6 separate regions of the Homo sapiens genome follow, and regions 1, 3, 4, 5 and 6 are each linked to region 2. Evidence: promoter capture Hi-C in 16 types of primary human blood cells and fetal thymus (Javierre and others, 2016). All regions are on one chromosome and are shown on one strand. The core of a region is centred on a gene start or on the middle of the fragment in contact, and the rest is flanking DNA. Distances in the headings are between cores, read along the strand shown.

Evidence for each region. The method cuts DNA at HindIII sites, captures the fragments that hold promoters and counts their contacts. A CHiCAGO score of 5 or more calls a contact.
Region 1: a contact is called between a fragment that was not itself captured here and the fragment with the promoter of ST6GALNAC5 in region 2, in 1 of 17 cell types (fetal thymus). The highest score is 5.5, in fetal thymus.
Region 3: a contact is called between a fragment that was not itself captured here and the fragment with the promoter of ST6GALNAC5 in region 2, in 1 of 17 cell types (erythroblasts). The highest score is 6.1, in erythroblasts.
Region 4: a fragment that was not itself captured here is called in contact with the fragment with the promoter of ST6GALNAC5 in region 2 in 1 of 17 cell types (megakaryocytes); the score reaches 5.6 in megakaryocytes.
Region 5: a contact is called between a fragment that was not itself captured here and the fragment with the promoter of ST6GALNAC5 in region 2, in 1 of 17 cell types (megakaryocytes). The highest score is 5.0, in megakaryocytes.
Region 6: a fragment that was not itself captured here is called in contact with the fragment with the promoter of ST6GALNAC5 in region 2 in 2 of 17 cell types (activated CD4 T cells and naive CD4 T cells); the score reaches 5.6 in activated CD4 T cells.

Annotation. Positions count from the first base shown.
Region 1 is chr1:76,090,070-76,093,264 of GRCh38, reverse strand. All of the region lies in intron 1 of ST6GALNAC3 (ST6 N-acetylgalactosaminide alpha-2,6-sialyltransferase 3), which reads right to left. Among named protein-coding and RNA genes, the nearest start is that of ST6GALNAC3, 17 kb to the right of the region's middle. The HindIII fragment of the contact is 1,155 bases long and covers 1,345-2,499 here.
Region 2 is chr1:76,865,908-76,869,191 of GRCh38, reverse strand. It overlaps ST6GALNAC5 (ST6 N-acetylgalactosaminide alpha-2,6-sialyltransferase 5), which reads right to left and starts at 1,712. Exons shown (of 5, transcript NM_030965.3): 1 at 1,502-1,712; 2 at 450-695. The coding sequence starts at 1,516. RefSeq lists an enhancer at 628-837. The HindIII fragment of the contact is 4,193 bases long and covers 1-3,284 here.
Region 3 is chr1:76,165,080-76,167,960 of GRCh38, reverse strand. All of the region lies in intron 1 of ST6GALNAC3 (ST6 N-acetylgalactosaminide alpha-2,6-sialyltransferase 3), which reads right to left. Among named protein-coding and RNA genes, the nearest start is that of ST6GALNAC3, 92 kb to the right of the region's middle. The HindIII fragment of the contact is 5,345 bases long and covers 1-2,881 here.
Region 4 is chr1:76,351,351-76,354,317 of GRCh38, reverse strand. All of the region lies in intron 2 of ST6GALNAC3 (ST6 N-acetylgalactosaminide alpha-2,6-sialyltransferase 3), which reads right to left. It also overlaps the pseudogene LOC100418965. Among named protein-coding and RNA genes, the nearest start is that of ST6GALNAC3, 280 kb to the right of the region's middle. The HindIII fragment of the contact is 4,072 bases long and covers 1-2,967 here.
Region 5 is chr1:76,303,484-76,306,471 of GRCh38, reverse strand. The region is part of intron 1 of ST6GALNAC3 (ST6 N-acetylgalactosaminide alpha-2,6-sialyltransferase 3); the gene reads right to left. Among named protein-coding and RNA genes, the nearest start is that of ST6GALNAC3, 230 kb to the right of the region's middle. RefSeq lists an enhancer at 2,689-2,988. The HindIII fragment of the contact is 4,943 bases long and covers 1-2,988 here.
Region 6 is chr1:76,144,330-76,147,525 of GRCh38, reverse strand. All of the region lies in intron 1 of ST6GALNAC3 (ST6 N-acetylgalactosaminide alpha-2,6-sialyltransferase 3), which reads right to left. Among named protein-coding and RNA genes, the nearest start is that of ST6GALNAC3, 71 kb to the right of the region's middle. The HindIII fragment of the contact is 5,591 bases long and covers 1-3,196 here.

The DNA.
Region 1 (3,195 bases), core at 673-3,172, 780 kb after region 2:
GGCAGTGCCAAGGGACTGCCTTCTTTTCATATGTATTCTTTCCTTTCCTTTTTCCATTAAAGCTGTACAAAGCAAACATGTTACAGTGTTTCCACTTTATTCCCATTTATTTTTAGACTATGATTTTTCACTATAGCCAGGATATGCAATTCTTCCCATATCTTCAAATCTTTACTACTGCACTCCCACAAACTTAATTAGGAAATTGTATGTAACAAACATTCAGTTCAACAAATAAATTCTGAATCTTTAGAATTCAACAGACATGAGTCAAACCACCTGCCTCTGCCTCTAAAGACACGTCCAGAGAAAAACAAGATGGAGGACAGTGCTTAAGAACATGGGAATATGGGAAGCAGGAGGACACAATGGAAGAGCACACCCTGGAGGCCAGGCAATCACTCTGGAGGCCAGGCAGTCACGCTGGACGCCAGGCAGTCTGGGTTTGAACCTCAACTCTGCTGCTCACCATGGAATGGCCTTGGACAATTTGGCTAGGCAGGACCAACCACATAATTTATGAGGCCCCATGCAAAATAAAAATGCAGGGCCCTTGTTCAAAATTATGAAGTCTTCTACGACAATAATTGCAGAATATTACACCAAGCATGGGGCCCTTCTAAGCATGGGGTCCTGTGTGATCATGCAGGTCACATGCCACGAAGCCATCCCTGCATCTAGCCACTGTCACCTCAGTTTACTTCTCTGTCAAATGGACACAATAATAGCACCCATTTTGAAGGGTTGCTGTGATGATTAGATTAGAAACTCCCATAAAAATTGCTTCTAAAAGCACCTGGTGCTTATCAAAAAATGTCATCTTTTGCCATTATTATTTTTTGAAAGTCAAGTTATGAAACAGAATAGCTACTAAGGCATTCATAGTCAATTATAAGATACTTCTTTACCAAGGGATTAGCCACAAAGTCCTTCAAACAGCAAACTTCCTTATTTAAATCTCAAAGAGTTTACAAAAGACTGATGCCTGTACTACTTTCTAAAAATACGTATTAGGCAAAACAAAGTATCTCTCTAATCAGAGAAATAAACCCAAAAAGATGGGCTTTCAGACAAGATGATCCAAGAGACATTTTTATTTAAGGTCTATAGGAAAGAAGATCTCTTCCTGTGTTTCCACTTGTACCATTCTGGCCTGTCTATAGGATGGTCTTATGACTTGGACAGAGCTGGGGTTAAGAGCACGGAGGTTGACATCAGTCAAAACTGAAGGATCTCCTAACTCTCTGACTTTAAGCAATTAAATTCTCTAAGCCCGCATTTCCTCATAAACAATCCAAACTCACAGCAGGATGAAAAAACAGATTCACAGTGTTGTTATAAGCTTTAACTGACATATACATACAGTCATGAATGGCTCAATGATAGGGATATGTTCTGAGAACCACATCCGTAAGTGTAGTTGTGTGAGCATCATAGAGTGCACTTACATACACCTAGATGGTGTAGCCTACTACATACCTAGGCTACATGGTATAGCCAATTGCTCTTAGGCTACAAACCCATACAGCACATTACTGTGCTATATACTATAGGTATAATAACTGTAACACAATGGTAAGTATCTGTGTATCTAAACATATCTAAACACAGAAAAGATACAGTAAAAATGTGATATTATCATCTTATGGGACCACTGTCATATAGGCAGTCTGCCATTGACTGGACTGAAACGTCGTCATGTGGCACATGACTATATGTGGTGCTTAGCTCAAGGTTTGGAGCATAGGATGACTCCATCAATAGCTGCCTTGAGGGCAAAAATATGGAGCCACATTCTAAGTCAGGGAAACAAACAGTAGGCATTAATGCACAATGGGGCAGAAGTCCCTTACTCCTCCCAATTTACATCTTCAGATAACAAGCATTTACTGTTCATCCGCATGAGAAAGAGTCTTAACTCAATGATCTAAGGGCTCAAAAGGTTACATTTAAATTTAGGACTGCTCTGACTAAATGAAAATTTCAACACCTACATTAATAGCTTTATTTGCCAAGAATATTTTACTTTTATTAGCACTTTCAAACAGACTGATATTCTTGCTTATCTTCATTTTACACGTGACACATTCTCACTGAAGCATGGTCACAACAGAATATGGTCTGGGGCCAGTGCAAGATCCTAGCCCAGCTTCTTGATTTCAGAGAACATGTGCCTTAAATATGACACACAAGGAGAGAGATGTCATTGCCATGTTTTAACTTACAGTTTTCTGATAAACATTCGGCCTGCGCAATTGCAAGGCTGTCATAATTGGAACAAGTCATTTCCAAGTACAAAGGGCAATGACCAGTGGCAATGCAGGGACTCTGAGCACTCTAAAAAGACAATAGAAGAATATTCTACTCCTCAGCTCAGTGGCTCCATTACGTTTAGTTTTGTGCTAAAAATGTCTCAAAAGTGTTCCATTACCTACAAGGTCAAGTCCAAACCCTTAGTCTACCTAATGTCCCACCAGCCCCCAAAGTCCAGACTAAGCTTTAGCCATAAAGTACTTCCCATCATTTTCCACAAATGTCATGTTTCAGATTCAGGGCCTGAAAAGACCCTAGAGTAGCTAGAAAATAATAAGAGGCTGAGTGCCTTGGAGGAGACTGGAAAGGGATCCTGTAGGCCTGTGGAGTCATGATTCAAAGATCGTAATATATTCCAAATGAAAAAGGAAGCCACTGACCAGATAAGAAAGGGAATGAGATCATCTTACGTGCATCTTTTAAAATTCCTTCTGGTTGCTGTGCCAAGAACAGATAAAAGAGTGACAAATGAAGAAGAGGAACTTGTGGCAGGGAGAGCAGTAGGTGGGTAGACCAGGAGGCACAGCCATCCGGCCAGTTAGTCTGAAGTTAATGCTCATGCTTATTCATCAAGATTCTGTTCAAGTATCTGCTTATCAGTGAGACTAATTCCACCAGGTCTGACCTGAACTAAGCAAGTGAAATAAATTGTCTTCTTAAGTATAATCTAGTTTAAAAGTTCTTAACATCAAAGAAAAGTTCTAAGAACTCCTTAACTTTTAAAAGATAATCAGTTTAATTCAGATCAAAATTATTTCCATAGGCTCCTTCCTAAATGATTCTCTCCTCTACAGAGGTAGAAGACCAGATGGTTAAAAGCAAGGTATTTTGGGTCAGACAGATCTGAATTTTATTCCCTGGCCCCACTAGCACTTACAATGG
Region 2 (3,284 bases), core at 463-2,962:
TGGATCCCGAGCAGTGGCCGCGGGCTGGCTGCGCTCACCCTCCGGTTCCGGGTCAGAGGAACGCTCAGGCTGGTACCCGCGCCAACCCCAGTTTCCTCCCACCAGGCAGCGACTCGGCGGCCAAACCCGAGGCTTCAGGAACCGGACCTCCATCCGCAGCTGCAATTCTGGGGATCAGGGAGTTCTAGTTCCAGGGCCGATTTCTGCTGGGAAATTAGGCTTTGGGGTCCACGCACCTCACCCCTATTTTCTACAAAACTTTGTGTCTTTCTCCAAATAAGAATTCATACCAAGTTGGAACTAGCCCACCCTACCCCAGCGGGTCCACTCCCCTCCAGCCTTCGAACGGCACCTACTCACAGCGCCTCCCAGCCCCGGGAAAGGGGGAAGGCTCAGGTGTGCGGGATCCCCAGGCTGAGTGGCGAGCGGGCTGGCGGGCATGCTGTCACCTTGTGGTCCGCCACTCCGAGGTATCCGTCCAGTGGCCGCGGTCCCGCGGGGACCCCGGGGCGCTGCTGGGTGCTGCTCTCCGCCGCCGGCTGCGAGCTGCCGGTGGCCGACGCCTGCTGCTGCTGTTGCTGCTGCTGCTGCTGCTGCTGCGGGGGCCGCTCCTTCTGGCCGCCGAGGCTGCTGTACACTAGCAACAAGCTGGTGCACATGGTGGTGAGCGCTAAACACACTGCCAGACCATGGCGCTGCGGGCGGGCGGGAGAGAGAAGAGGAGAGCGGCTGAGCGCAGACACCGGAGGAGCGCGCCCAGCGGGGACAACTGTGCGGTGGTCACTCTAGTGGGGGAGATTTGGGGCGGCCTGGGCCCCAGCCCCGCCGCACGCAACTGGGACAGAGAAAGCACCGTCCCCTAGCGTATCGCAAGGGATGCTCCGGGCGCGTCGCTGCTTTCGGCCGCCGCCGCCCAGATCTCTCGGTAGAGGGCAGGTGGTGTACGGCCCCGGGCTGAGGGAGGGAGCGCGCCGGGGCCGAGGACAGGGGTGGGTTTGCACTTTGGGGAAGGGCCCGTCTGGCGCAGCCACCCCAGCCAAGCTGCTGGAATTTTGAGTCCTTCACACCCCTCCTTTCCTGGGGCCCTGGATCCTTGCGATCCTTGCAAGTTTGAAATCTAAGAAAACGAAGAAAGTCTGCAAAGGTCCCCCCTCCCCGTCCCTCTTAGTTTTTGGCAGGCTGTTGCTTTTGGGCACCCCCATCCCTTGAGCAATCTGCCCACTCCTCCATCGCTCCTGCAGCTCTCCGCCACCCCCTCGGACCTCTCGCCGGAGATCTAGGAGGCGAGGCAACCCCGAGTTCCCATCCTGGCTCTGGGATTCCGAGCCAGGCAGAGCTGGAGAATCGGGAGGGAACGCGGAGCGGGTAGAAAGTTGTCCCTTTGTAACAGGCGACCTCGCGGCCCAGGGTTAGGCGTCTCGGAGTCTCCACGGTGCGTCCCGTGGACCCTGAGCCCGGGGATCCCCCTCTTTGCCCGGTGGAGTTGCCACAACTGACTCACCATCAGGGTCTTCATTTTGGGCACCTCTTTTGTGCAGAATCCTCAGGCTCGCGCGTCCGGGGCCACTTTTTCCTGGAGGGTTTCCATGATGGGTAATGGGGCGGAGGCGGCTCTGATTTTTGCCCAGCAGCCGGCCGCGGCAGATCGCGCGCGGGAGCCGCGGGACCCGGGAAGCGCGGCTGTTGCAGAGATTAGAGACAGAATTAAAACTGAACCGGACCCTCGTAGTCTCTCAGCGATCTACACAACTGCCGCCTGCCGCCGCCTGCTGGGTCCTAAAGACCTCTACATCCCCTTCCCCGCCCCCAAATAATAATCTTTTCAGTAGTGAAATTTCTGGGGAGAGAGAGTTAACCGAGCCAGTGTACCCACTTCTTGGTCCGCGGGCTTATTTATCTTTAAAGAAGTCATCAAGTAGTAAAGAAGGAGAACCTGATTGGATTCTGAACGTGATAGCCATGTGAAAATCTGCAACCTAAATTTTCTGTTTTGCGATGTTGATAAAAACAAATCAACCTCCCAAATGTCAATAACTCTATTTATAGCGTTTGCGTTTATGTACGTAGCATAGAGAAATACATGATGAAATTATTTTTCTTAAAAAATTATTTATTATTCCGTTTTTCAATTGCTCACTTTCTTATTTTCTCTTCTCTCTTAATTTTAATTTTACTTTATCAGATTCAGTTATTCTCATGCATTCTTTAGATAATATTTCATCTCAATTATTTCATTTATTATTTTCATTGAATATTACAATTTACATTTCTGCCTGACCTCTGAGTTTCCTAGTGTTCATCTAAATGATCTTAAAGTTTTAAAAACATTCAGCACGTCACAGCTACATGATTAACTTGACCTGTAGATTCTTCCTAATTTGGATGAAGAATTTCTGTCTGCTAGAGATAAAACTGCATATGGCTTATTTCATAATCCTAAGGTATTTGGTGCTTTCCGTTGGTCTACTGCACTGACGGCGATAGTTTCACATTCAGGACTTCAATTAAAATTAAAAAAACATAAGTATTGTTTTATGTTGGGAAAGTCACATCAATAGCTTGTTTTAAGGATGCTGTCTCCTCTGCATTGAATTACAAATGGCATTTGTTAAATGTCTAATTTAGCTAAAAACATATTTCTTGTGAAATTGCTCAGTGAAAATAGTTGTCTTAATGTATTACTTAACATCTCACCTGTAGCAGTGTAATGTTAAAGATTACATTAAGATGGAAATGATCAGCAGGCCTACTGAACCATGGGCACAATAAGAGCTTTCTCAAGGCCAAAGAAGGCATTACAATCCATTTTTAATCTTCCCTAATCTATTGCTGGACTGATGATACAACAGGAACTATTTTTATCTTATGAGGCATCCTTCCATACTTAGTATTAAGAAAGTTAAAATTATTGGTGCAATAATGAATATCAGTGCAACGTGTTTGGGAGAGGGCAAGAAAGCACACGATTTAGCCTTTCAAGGAAAAGCAAAATAGGAAGCACTGTCCAACATTGCCAGCCTTGAAACTATTTATTCAGTTTGTGCTTTAGGCATGAATAGTACCAGTTGTTAGGGCAGGAAAAGCAGCAGCCAGAGGAGAATCTTACCAGGTCTTGGCAATTCTTTATTGTATGGTTGCACTTGACACTCAAATTAATGAAACAAAGGACCAACTTGATGAATCACTGCAAGCAGATTATCTGTGTTTCTCCAGGGATCCTTTTAGATGCTATTAGAAGCAGCTCCTGCATTTTTCAGGATTATTCCCCCTCCATCTAGCAAGTT
Region 3 (2,881 bases), core at 178-2,677, 700 kb after region 2:
CAAAAGACCAATGAATCCAGGAGCTGTTTTTTGATAAAAATTAATAAAACAGACATACCACTAGCTAAACTAATAAAGAAGAAAAGAGAGAAGATTCCAATAAACACAATCAGAAATGGCAAGGGGAATATTACCACTGACCCCACAGAAATACAACCAACCATCAGAGAATATTATGATCACCTCTATGCACATAAACTAGAAAATCTAGAAGAAATTGATACATTTCTGGACATATACACCCTCCCAAGACTGAACCAGGAAGAAACTGAATCCCTGAACAGACAATAATGAGCTCCGAAATTGAATCAACAAATAGCCTACCAACCAATAAAAGCCCAGGGCCAGATGGATTCACAGCTGAATTCCACCAGATGTACATAGATGAGCTGGTACCATTCCTTCTGAACCAATTCCCAAAAGTTGAGGTAGAGTGACTCCTCCCTTACTCATTCTATGAGGCCAGCATCATGCTGATACCAAAACCTGGCAGACACACAACAACAACAAAAGGAATCTTCAGGCCAATAGCCTGGATGAATATCAACTACAAAATACTGACAAACCAAATCCAGCAGCACATCAAAAAATTTATCTACCACAATCAAATAGGCTTGTTATCCCTGGGATGCAAGGTTGGTTCAACACATGCAAATCAATTAATGTGAGCCATCATATAAACAGAACTAAAGACAAAAAACATGATTATTTCAATAGATGCAGAAAAGGCTCTCCATAAAATTCAACATCCCTTCATGTTAAAAACTCTCGATAAACTAGGTATTAAATGAATATACCTCAAAATAATAAGAACCATCTATGACAAACCCACAGCCAACACCATAATGAATGGGTAAAAGCTGGAAGCATTTCCCTTGAAAACCAGCACAAGACAAGGATGCCCTCTCTCACCACTCTTATTCAACAGTATTGGGTCCTGGCCAGATCAATCAGGCAAGAGAAAGAAGAAAAGGGCATCAAAATCGGAAGAGAGGAAGTCAAACTATCCCTGTTTGTAGACAAGATGATCCTATATCTATAAAACCCAATAGTCTCAGCCCAAAAGCTCCTTAAGCTGATAAACAACTTCAGCAAAGTCTCAGGTTACAAAATAAATGCACAAAAATCACTAACATTCCTGTACATCAACAACAGTGAAGCCAAGAGCCGAATAGGCAACGCAATCCTACTCACAATTGCCATAAAAATAATAAAATACTTAAGAATACTCAGCCAACCAGGGAGGTGAAAGATCTCTACAAGGAGAACTACAAAACACTGCTCAAAGAAACCAGAGATAACACAAATAAATGGAAAAACATTCCATGCTCATGGATAGGAAGAATCGATATTGTTAAAATGGCCATGCTGCCCAAAGTATTTTATAGATTCAATGCTATTCCTGTTAAACTAGCATTGACATTCTTCACAGAACTAGAGAAAACAATTTTAAAATTCATATGGAAGCAAAAAATGAGCCCAAATAGTCAAGGCAATCTTAAGCAAAATGAACAAAGCTGGACACATCATGCTACTGGACTTCAAACTGTACTACACAGCTACAGTAACCAAACAGCATAGTACTGGTACAAAAAGAGAAAACAGACCAATCAAAAAGACTGGAGAACCCAGAAATAAGGCCATACACCTACAACTATCTGATATTCAACATGACAAAAACAAGCAATGGGGAAAGGATTCCCTATTCAGTAAGTTGTTCTGGGATAATTGGCTAGCCACAAGCAGAATACTTAAACTGGACCCCTTCCTTCCGCCATATACAAAAATTAACTCAAGATGAATTAAGGACTTAAATGTAAAACCCAAAACTAGAAAAACTCCAACTTAGGCAACACCATTCTGGCCATAGAAACAGGGAAAGATTTCATGACGAAGACACCAAAAGCAATTACAAGAAAAGCAAAAGTTTACAAACAGGATCTAATTAAACTAAAGATCTTCTGCACAGCAAAAGAAACTCTCAACAAAGTGAACAGACAACCTACAGAATGGGAGGAAATTTGTGCAAACTATGCATCTGACAAAGGTCTAATATCTAGCATTTATAAGAAATACAAACAAATGTACAAGAAAAAAAACCCATTAGAAAGTGGACAAAGGACATGAACAGACACTTTTCAAAAGAAGATGTACATGCAGCCAATAATCATATGAAAAAAAACTCAGCATCACTGATTATTTGAGAAATGCAAATCAAAACCACAATGAGATGCCATCTCACGCCAGTCAGAATGTCTATTATTAAAAAGTCAAAAATAACAGATGCTGGTGAAGTTGTGGAGAAAAAGGAATGGTTATACACTGTTGGTGGGAGTGTAAATTAGTTCAACCACTGTGGAAGACACTGGTGACTCCTCAAAGACCTAAAAACAGAAATACCATTTGACCTAGTAATCTCATTACTGGGTATATATCCAAATAAATACAAATCATTCTATTATAAAAGACACATGCACATGTATGTTAATTACAGCACTGTTCACACTTGTAAAGACATTGAATCAACCTAAATGCTCATCAATGATAGACTGGATAAAGAAAACATGGTACATATATACCACGGAATACTATGCAACCATTAAAAGGAACAAGATCATATCTTTTACAGGGACATGAATGAAGCTGAAGGCCATTATCCTTAGCAAACTAAGGCAGTAATAGAAAACCAAATACTGCAAGCTCTCACTTACAAATAGGAGCTAAATGATGAGAACACACAGACACACAGAAGGGAACAACATACACTGGGGCCTATCAGAGGAAGGAAGGTGAGAGGAGGGAGAGGATCAGGAACAATAACTAACAGGTACTAGGCTTAATACCTGGTCAACAAAACAATCTGTACAACAAACCCCATGAC
Region 4 (2,967 bases), core at 201-2,700, 510 kb after region 2:
CCCTAAGAAGGCTGAATAGGATAGGTGGTGCCTAACCACAGAGACAGGACTGTCGCAGCCACAGGGCCCAGCCTGGAGCTGGCACAACTGTGCGCCCTGAAACATTGAACTGGGTTGGTCCTCACTGGGGCTGCTATGATAGAATCATAGCAGCAGGAGCAGTGGTAGCAACAGCAGCAGCAGGAGCAGCGTGACTACTAGAAAGAGAAGGAGAGTGGATGCTTGGGGACCCACGATTTCAGCAGTAACTTTGCAGCCATGGCACCTGTCATGGTGGGAGATGCTATCCTGGCATTAGTGGTGTTTGAAAGGGAGCCTGGGAACAAGGTGGACCTGACAGAACTATGCCAGGGAAAGAAGGGTGTGCTGTTTAGAATCCCTGGGGCTTTCACCCCAACTGTCAAAGACCCACCTGCTTGGGTTTGGGGAGTAGGCTGGGGTTCTGAAGGTAAAGGGGGGCCAGATCCATGTTTAAGTGCCACTGTCTTTGTGTCTTTGTGACTGGTGAGTGGGGACAGGCCACAGTGCAGAAGGCCAAGGCCAGCTCATGGGTGGCAGCCCTGGGGCCTCTGGGAAGGAGACTGATTTGTTACTAGATGATTTGCTGTTGCCACTCTTTGAGGATGAGAGCTTGAGAGGTTCTTCCTGGTGATAGAGGATGGTGTGGTGAAGGCCTTGCATGAACCTGACCATACAGGCCTCACCTGCAGCCTGGTCCCCAGTTCTATCTCACAGCTCTGAGGCCCAGATCCCTTCACTGTTTCCTGTCTCAGGTGCCCAGCCCTGGGCAAGGGGCCCCAGTCTAACCTCAGCTGGAGTCACTCAATTGGAACCTTGGCCAAATTTCTGCAATAAACACTCCAGTTCAAAACAAACGAACAATGATTTGACAAAAAAAAAAGTTGGGCAGGGCAACTCAATAATCATTGGTAGAAAGGAGCTGACATTAGTTATGGTGCCAGGTTGGAAGCCTCTCTGAAGGGGTGGCAACTGAGCTGAGACTGCTCAGACAAGAATGGCCAGCCACAGAAACGCGTGGGCCCGAAGAACGTACAGGGAGAGGAAACAGCAAGCAAGCCCATGACAGAAACTGGTTAGGCATGTTAAGGGAATAGAAGGCCAGGGTGGCTGGAGAGGAGATGGGAGCATGGTTCTTTATTGGCCATGATACAGAGTTCAGTGTTTATTCTGACTGCAGTGAAAGCCCAATAAAGAATTTAAGAAGGGGAGTGGAGTAATTCTAGTTGTATATTTAAGAGATCTCTTTGGAGAATGGATGATGAGGGTGAGGGCTGGAAGATGAGAGTGGAAGCAGGAGACCAGTGGAGAATGTAGGTGACAGCAGATGGTGTCTTGGATTAGAGTAACAAGGAAAATCAAGAGAAGTGGACAGGTTTGGTGATATAACCAGCTGGCATGATGGCAGATGGAATGTGGAGGAAGGCAGACAGAGAAATGTCTAGAATGCATCTTAGGTTTTTGACTTAAGAAACTGAGTGAATGGCAATACCATTTATAGGAACGAGGAGGAATGTAGAACAGATGTGAAGAAAAAAATTCAGTTTTGAGCCTGTACCTAATTCTGATAATTATTATACATCCACATGGAAATATCAAGCAGGTAATGGAATATACAAGTCAGAGGCTCATGGTACGAGTCAGGGCTGGAGGTATAAAGTTATACAGAAGGAGTTAAAGCAATGTAATTAGATTAGGTCATTCAGGAATAAAATGCAGATAGAGAAGAAAAAGAGCTCAAGCTCTTTAGCACTCCAGCAATTAGAGATTGGCCGGAGGTAAAAAAAAAAAAAAAAAAAAAAGGAAACCAAAAAGTTTGAAAATAACCAGTGAGACAGAGGGAAAGCAGGAGGGACAGGCACAGTTCTGAATGCCTTACTATCTTATTTCATTTAATCCTATGAGCCCAATAATATTCTCAATAAAAAAAAAAAAGGAGGAAATAGTCAAGTTGGACAGACGGTATTGAAAAGCAGAGTCAGCCAAAAACACAGAACAATGTGTTGACAATGTTGACCACTGATGATGTCAACAAGGGTATTTCAGTGTTGAAACAATAACTTATTGTTTAAACAGAAACTATATTTACTTACAAATTAGAAAACACCAAATGACTATTAAGGAGAAAAATAAAATGAACTAATCAATGGTGGTATTCAAACAGCATTATAACATTTTTCTCAACCTTTTCTTTTTTCATTATTGTCCCTCTAAGGAGCCTGGTTAAGACAATTTTATCCTACTTATACCCCCTCCCACATGAAATTTGATACTGCAGTTAAACTCGTTATCTACTTAGGTACTATGGCCCTTCGGATGGCCACAAACATTTATAATATCAAAAGCCTTTTGACCTTCCCCCACCCCAACCTCCTCAACATGAATTTTCACATCCCAGGGGATGAGACAATATCTGTAATTATAATTATGCATTGTAATTATAGCCTGCTATTGTATTGAGAGGAAAATGTATGTTTCACTTATCATTAGAGTGGCCACATAATTTATTACCCAACTGATGTATTTTGGGGAGGAAAGAGAGTACTACTAATAATTACGTTGGGATAGAAGGCATATACCAGAATATGCCAGGCAACTGGGATATATGATTATCCTACTTCTCATAAACTCTGAAAAAATTTTAATTATAAGAATAAATTTGGCAATATTTTAATTCTAAAGTGGACAAATAAATTCAACAGCTAGGCTGTCAGAAAAACGAACAAAATGGGCAAACATGGAGACTCTAACAAAGACAAAAAAAGAAAGCACAAAACAAGTTAGAAGTTATAAAAAAAAGTTATAGTAGTTTTAAAGTATATCACAGATCTCCATATAGTCTTTATACTAAAAAAATTGAAAATTTAGATAAAAAGAGAATTTTCTGGGAATGTGCAAGTGTTTAAAACTGACTCAGGAAGGAGTTTAAAACAATATAGATAATTATGA
Region 5 (2,988 bases), core at 330-2,829, 560 kb after region 2:
TAAAGTAGATTACCATGTTGAAGGCGTCCTATTACTTTTAAACTTTTTTTTAACTACCAACATTTTGTTGTTTAGTTGTGTTTTTGTTGAACAAAAGGGTCATTGGATTGTGGAGCTGAAAGAGGAAGACATACCCATTCCATCAGGTTGGTTCCTACAAACTGCCTACAATAAGAGTCTATACAATTGACTGTCAAAGGGTACCTAGTGTTCTCTAGCAGAAGTGGAAGAATAATTGCTTTATTTTCCCTGAGTGCTAACCAAGTGCACCCTGTAGTTGTCTTTTTAATACCGGGAATAAAGCCAGAGTTGGGCAAAATGAATTAAATTTATCCACAAATTGCTGATTTCAAAGTAAATGTAATTATCATGCTTCACACCAGCCTCTTAATTTTCCATATGAATTAGGTATTTTGGTTACTGACAAACTGCATTACAAAATCTACCTAAGGCTGGTACCAGTTTTTAAAATTTCTGAACCAGTTATATGAGAATGTTCCCATTAGTATGAATAACAATTAACAACTTAGTTAATTCACACACTAGAACACAGGCTCTAGAGGCAGAATATCAGAGTTCAAGTCATCTTTACCATTTTCTCCATCTATGACTTTGGGCAGTCACTTCATCTCACTATGCCTCTATTTCTTTGTCTGGAAAACTGAGATTATATAAATAATTCTCTAACTGATAACACTCATTAAACTTCATCCTCTGTTAAGACTATGATGATTATTCATGCACGTACACTCTATCTGGACTATATTCTCCTAGTAAGAGAAAAAAGGCCGATCTGAAAGTAATAATTGCTGGGTTTTGTACTGATAATTTAATATCTGCTGGTGATACCTGATGAAGTAGTCCATGTTTGCTCTTGATATTGTCTTTCCCGAAAGAGTCTTTACCACTTCCCAAACATTGGCCACACCACCTCCAGACTGAGCTTTCCAAAATCAAACCTGATCCTGTCTATCCTACATTTAGATCCCTCTGGACTCTACAGTGTAAGTGCAGACCCTTGGTATGATATACAAGACCTTCCATAATCACATCTCCTCTTGCCTCTCTAGTTCCACTCCTTCTGCCCTATTCAAAGCCTACACTCAATATATTTCTTTTACTATATCACATCTTCTTCATTAGGCTCCCGGATTCTGTCATGCTGTTCATTATCCCAAAGTGATCTTCTTTGAAATTCACATTACTACTCTTTTCTTGATGGTACCAATGATTCTAGCACCCACTATGCTGCCTAAGGCTGCCCTTCTTAAGATTAGATATGGACCTGACCCATCAGGACTTTCCATCATTTTATTACCCTGAAGTTACTTGTTTTTCCATCAAATCCTACTACTTATGGGAAGAAATGTTCTCCAATCCACCTGTTGCCCTCACTCAGATCCCACCCCTGTGCGCCGGGCATTCTGTTGAGGAAAGGGAGGTGCTAACTAACCAGGAACAATGAAGGTAATCGGAACAGGTGCTTTTGTTTAATTCTCAGCTACCTTATAGGCTTCATTGGTTGTATGTGGCTTCTGCGAACCTCTGCTTGTCATCTTTTCACTCTAAACGAGATGAGTTTGTCTCTTAGAATCCATTCGTACCTCCAAGGTGTTCAGGACACAGAAGCAGAGCATAAGTGTAAATTCTGGTGGTCCTGGTGTCATTAGGGAGGAAGTCCTGCCAGAGGCATCCCGACAATGATGAAAATGACTACGATGATAATGACATCAGCTGGAATCTCTTATTTTTCTGTGAATCTACATGACCTTACATTAAATGGCATTTATCCTCACACCTCACATGCATCTCTCTGTAACAAGTGAAGTGAGAAGGGAAGTCTCCTCTCCCATCTCTCCCTTTCCTGTCCTCCATGTTTCAAGCTGGACTTCTCAGCCTTCTCTAAAGCCCCTTTGCTATCCAGTTACTGTGACCTTGTTCATGCTGCTCCTCCTGGCCCCCTTGCTGTATTCTACCATCCTCATCTCTGCAAGTTCCAATATAACTTGCTCAGAGTGTTTCCCCCATAAAGCATTTGTTCCTCCTTGGCTTCTAGTTCATGGATAAGGGTGGGGTGGGATGGGGTGGATGGAGAAAGAAGATGGAGGAAAGAGGGAAGAGGGAGAGTGGAGGGAGAAAGGAAGGGAGGGAAGGAGAGAAAGATTCCCCCTTAATTTTGTCTTTGAAAATTTCTTCAGGACATGAACAAAATCTGAGAAATATATCTCATAAGGCAGTATCAAGCACAATGTCTTTAACAGAAAATATTCAGTAAATATTTGTGGAAGAAATGAAAGAATGAAGGAGAGAAAGAAGGAAGGACAGAGGGATTAAATGATTTTTTCTAAATATAAGTCCTAAATTATTTCAAAAATTTCAGATTCAGATTATTATAAAAATATGTTTTTTCATAAAAGAAAAAAGGCAATTTTCTTTTTTTTTCTTAATTCATCTCACTTTAAGATTTCTGTGTAGATTTGAGGTGAATGTGGTGGGGAATGGGAAAGTGAGGGAGAGGGTTAGGGTGTGAAATATAAAGAGAAGTGAGAAAAATTTAAAATATAAAGAGAAGTGAGAAAAATTTAAACATTTGTTAAACTGGACTTTTTACTAGGAAATTTACTAGGAAATTGCTTTGAAGTTCCTGATAGAACTTGTAAATCTGAATGGTGATAAACTAGTAAACCTGCTTGGAGCAACATTTTTTATATGGCACATAATGAAAAGGCTTACAAGAATCCATATTTTTTAGATAATCAACTCTTGTCTGAGATTGACAACACTTAAAGCTAGAATCCTATATCATGGAATGAGAAATAGATAACAAAAGAGTATCCTATTCTTCTGATAAGGACAATAGCTTATTTTTTAGTGGAAGGGACTTGCAACAGCTCACTATGTACTCAGCAAGTATCAGGCATTATGCCAAGTACTTTACAAAGCTAAAAGTGGATTCTCACCAGGGGTGTACCGGTAGACTCAGGTGGT
Region 6 (3,196 bases), core at 1-2,500, 720 kb after region 2:
AAGAATGTTAAATGCTGGGGAAGGGGGAAGATTGATTGCAAGTTGGTTGGTCCAAGAACACACATGGTCTTGCATCTCAGGTTAAGATATCTGTGCTTGATTTCATAGACAATCAAAGAGGCAAAATACTTTTAAAAGCCTTAGCAGTAAAAGTGAGTGATCAGGCCAGGAACAGCAGCTCACGCCTGTAATCCCAGCACTTTGGGAGGCTGAGGCAGTTGGATCACCTGAGGTCAGGAGTTCGAGACCAGCCTGGCCAACATGGGGAAACCCTGTCTCTACTAAAAATACAAAAATTAGCTGGGCATGGTGGCAGGTGCCTGTAATCTCAGCTACTTGGGAGGCTGAGGCAGGAGAATCACTTGAACCCAGGAGGCAGAGGTCGTAGTGGGCCAAGATGGCACCATTGTACTCCAGCCTGGGAGACAGAGTGAGACTAGTCTCAAAAAAAAAAAAAAAAAGAAGTGGGGGGAGTGATCAGTAGAAGTTAGCTAATGTTGGTAGTGTTTAATTTAGGATGTATTTGAGGATGTGACACGTGGAGCAGTACACGGAGTCATTAGACATAGCATGAGATGGAGAGAAGCATGTAGGAGAGATGTCAAGGAGGAGGTCGGAAAGTACATTTCATCAAACACTGGTCTTCCTAGATACTTTCAAAGAAGGTTCTACAGGGAAATAAATTCAGAAATGAGAAAACCACCCAACCCCTCCTGGCAGCATATTAAAAGTTCTAATTTGTCCTGAGGCTAAACCAACAAACAAAATGATATTTAACTGTCTAAATTAATATTTTATACTTTGTCCTGATCAATTTTTTTTAGCGGTGAGGGGGGTGGAACCCCTATTAAAACCTGGCAGGACTAACTTTATGAAATGCTGAACAAGAGGGAAAAAGAAAAAATCCTACAAATTGGGAAAAGACGATGGATTTGGGAGAGAGAAAAGAAACTGAATGACAGGCTCTGGAAAGCACTTGACTGGAAGTGTGGACAGGAGTGTGAGGGAGAAAAGAAGGAGGAGGGGAGGAGCCGTCAAAGTCAGAGAGGACAGGAGCATGCCAAGATGCCACTAACAGAATCTTCAAGAACATCTCAATCAAAAGTTGAGCCACTTTCAGGGAAAGTGCAGTGAATGCTAACACTCCTTCTGAATGCCTCTCATCTGACATCAATGAAAACAAGGAATTAAAAAAGGGATAATCTTCCTTTTATGAAGGGAGAGAAGTTAAGGCTTTAGACAGACACCATCCTGGATCACCCCTGCAATCAATCCTGAAGGGATAGAGAAGGACAGTGAATTTTGAAGAAGCAAGAAAAGGAGAAAGTGTTGTTTAGAATTAAGCCTTGTTTAATCAGTCTGGGAACGTAAAGAACAGCTTAAATCATTAATCTTGAAAAGCACGTCTTGTCCACTCATGCAGACATATATAATTCAGGCACCTTTTTTCCTTGGCTGCTTAGCAGATTGTCTGTATTTATTAAATTGCCTTTACTACTTTTAGATGGCCATACGTTTTCAAAAGCAAAGACCTAGTAAGCCATTTGTGTTCATTTGCTAAGCTATCTTAGGTACAGGTCCAGATTATAAATGTTACCTGCTAATCAGAGAGCAAATTTTTAAATTAATCACTTGTAAATCCACATTAAAAGAAAAAGAAACTTAGAAAAACACATAAATTTCTTTTGTGATCCCACTATTCAGGAAAATCCATTGAAAAAGCAGATGACTTATCCGTGTTAAATTTTTAAAGCCCCTATTAAACTGTCATGTAAATTCTTATTTATCTAATTTTTAAACACATATAGAATTTACTCTCCAGTTCATAAATGCCTCAATTCTGTGATGTCATTACAACAGCATTAACGCAGACATATCGACTTAAACAGCCATGCAGTCCTGAATCAGAAGTGAGTTTTAAGTCACTAATTATTTCCGTAATTGAAAAAGAACAACACATCTGAATAGTATTTTGGCCCAGAGGTATTCAACAGGCTGGTGCTTCTCAAAGAGTAACATGCATGATATACAGGAACCTTGTCAAGATTCAGATTGAGTCAGTGGGTCTAAGGTGGAGTCTGAGACTCCACGTGTCCAACAAGCTCCCTGGTGATGCCCATGCTGCTAGTACACGTCCCACACTTTGAGTTGAAAGGCAATAGATGATCCTTCCAGGATTCAAGGAGGGGCAGCGGGGTTGGATGAAATAGACTGGGTGAAAAGGACTGAGTTGCTTTTTTAGCTTTCCCAGTGTGATTCCTGCTGGACTCTCTGGAAAGCATTGTTGTCCTTTGGTCTAGAAAGACTTGAAAGTTCAAGGTCTAAAGTCATATGTGCAAAATGTGGTGGAATAAATGTTAAGGAGAAACAGGAAACTGTAATAACAGTGTGAGGGTTGGTGACAGGCTCTCTACTCTGAGCAGCTAAAAATTATAAAGAGGAGAATTCTTAGACAAGCCTGGGTTGACGTTCAGGATTCAGATTTGTTTATAAATGTCTGGCTGATTCTTGAGACAAGGCAAGTTCTGAACAAGCTACTTTAAGATAAGCATTATTATTTTCAGTAAAGGAATGAGAAACTCAGAAGATGCCTGAGGCCACTCAACTCATAACAGAGTGAAGACACAAATCCAAGAGGTCTCCTGACTCCAATAAAGGAGGCCCTCACCTCTAAATTACACAGTTTGTCAAGGTGATCCCCAAACCAGTTGGTAACCAATGTTTGAGAAATTCATAGAAGCTATCAGACTTCAGGACACAACTGTCATCTATGTCAACTTTTCAAGAAAAGAAGATACCAGGAACTATAGACTAGTTTGCTTCACAGAATCATTAGGGGAAGCGGGGAGAGTATTGTATTTATTAAAAGAAGTGGTGAGTGCATTAGAAGCTAGCATGGGCTCACTGCCCATCTCCCCTCCCAGGTGAAGCCAAGGCAGGGGGAATCCTTCCGTGTTGTTTTCTTCAGCATTGATTGTAAGCTCTCAAAGCAGTGGCTGTTCCATGATAGGCACTTAAATATTTGTTGAATGACTGAACAAATGAGTGAACAAGAAACAGGCCAACACACTCCAATATTTGTCAAGTTCAACTAGAGGCCAGGCACTATGGATACAAAAACAAATAAGATGTAGTCCCTGAGTAGAAGTGGTTAGGTCTGTTTTCTTAACTGTTAGTTTGGAAAGAAACTTATGGC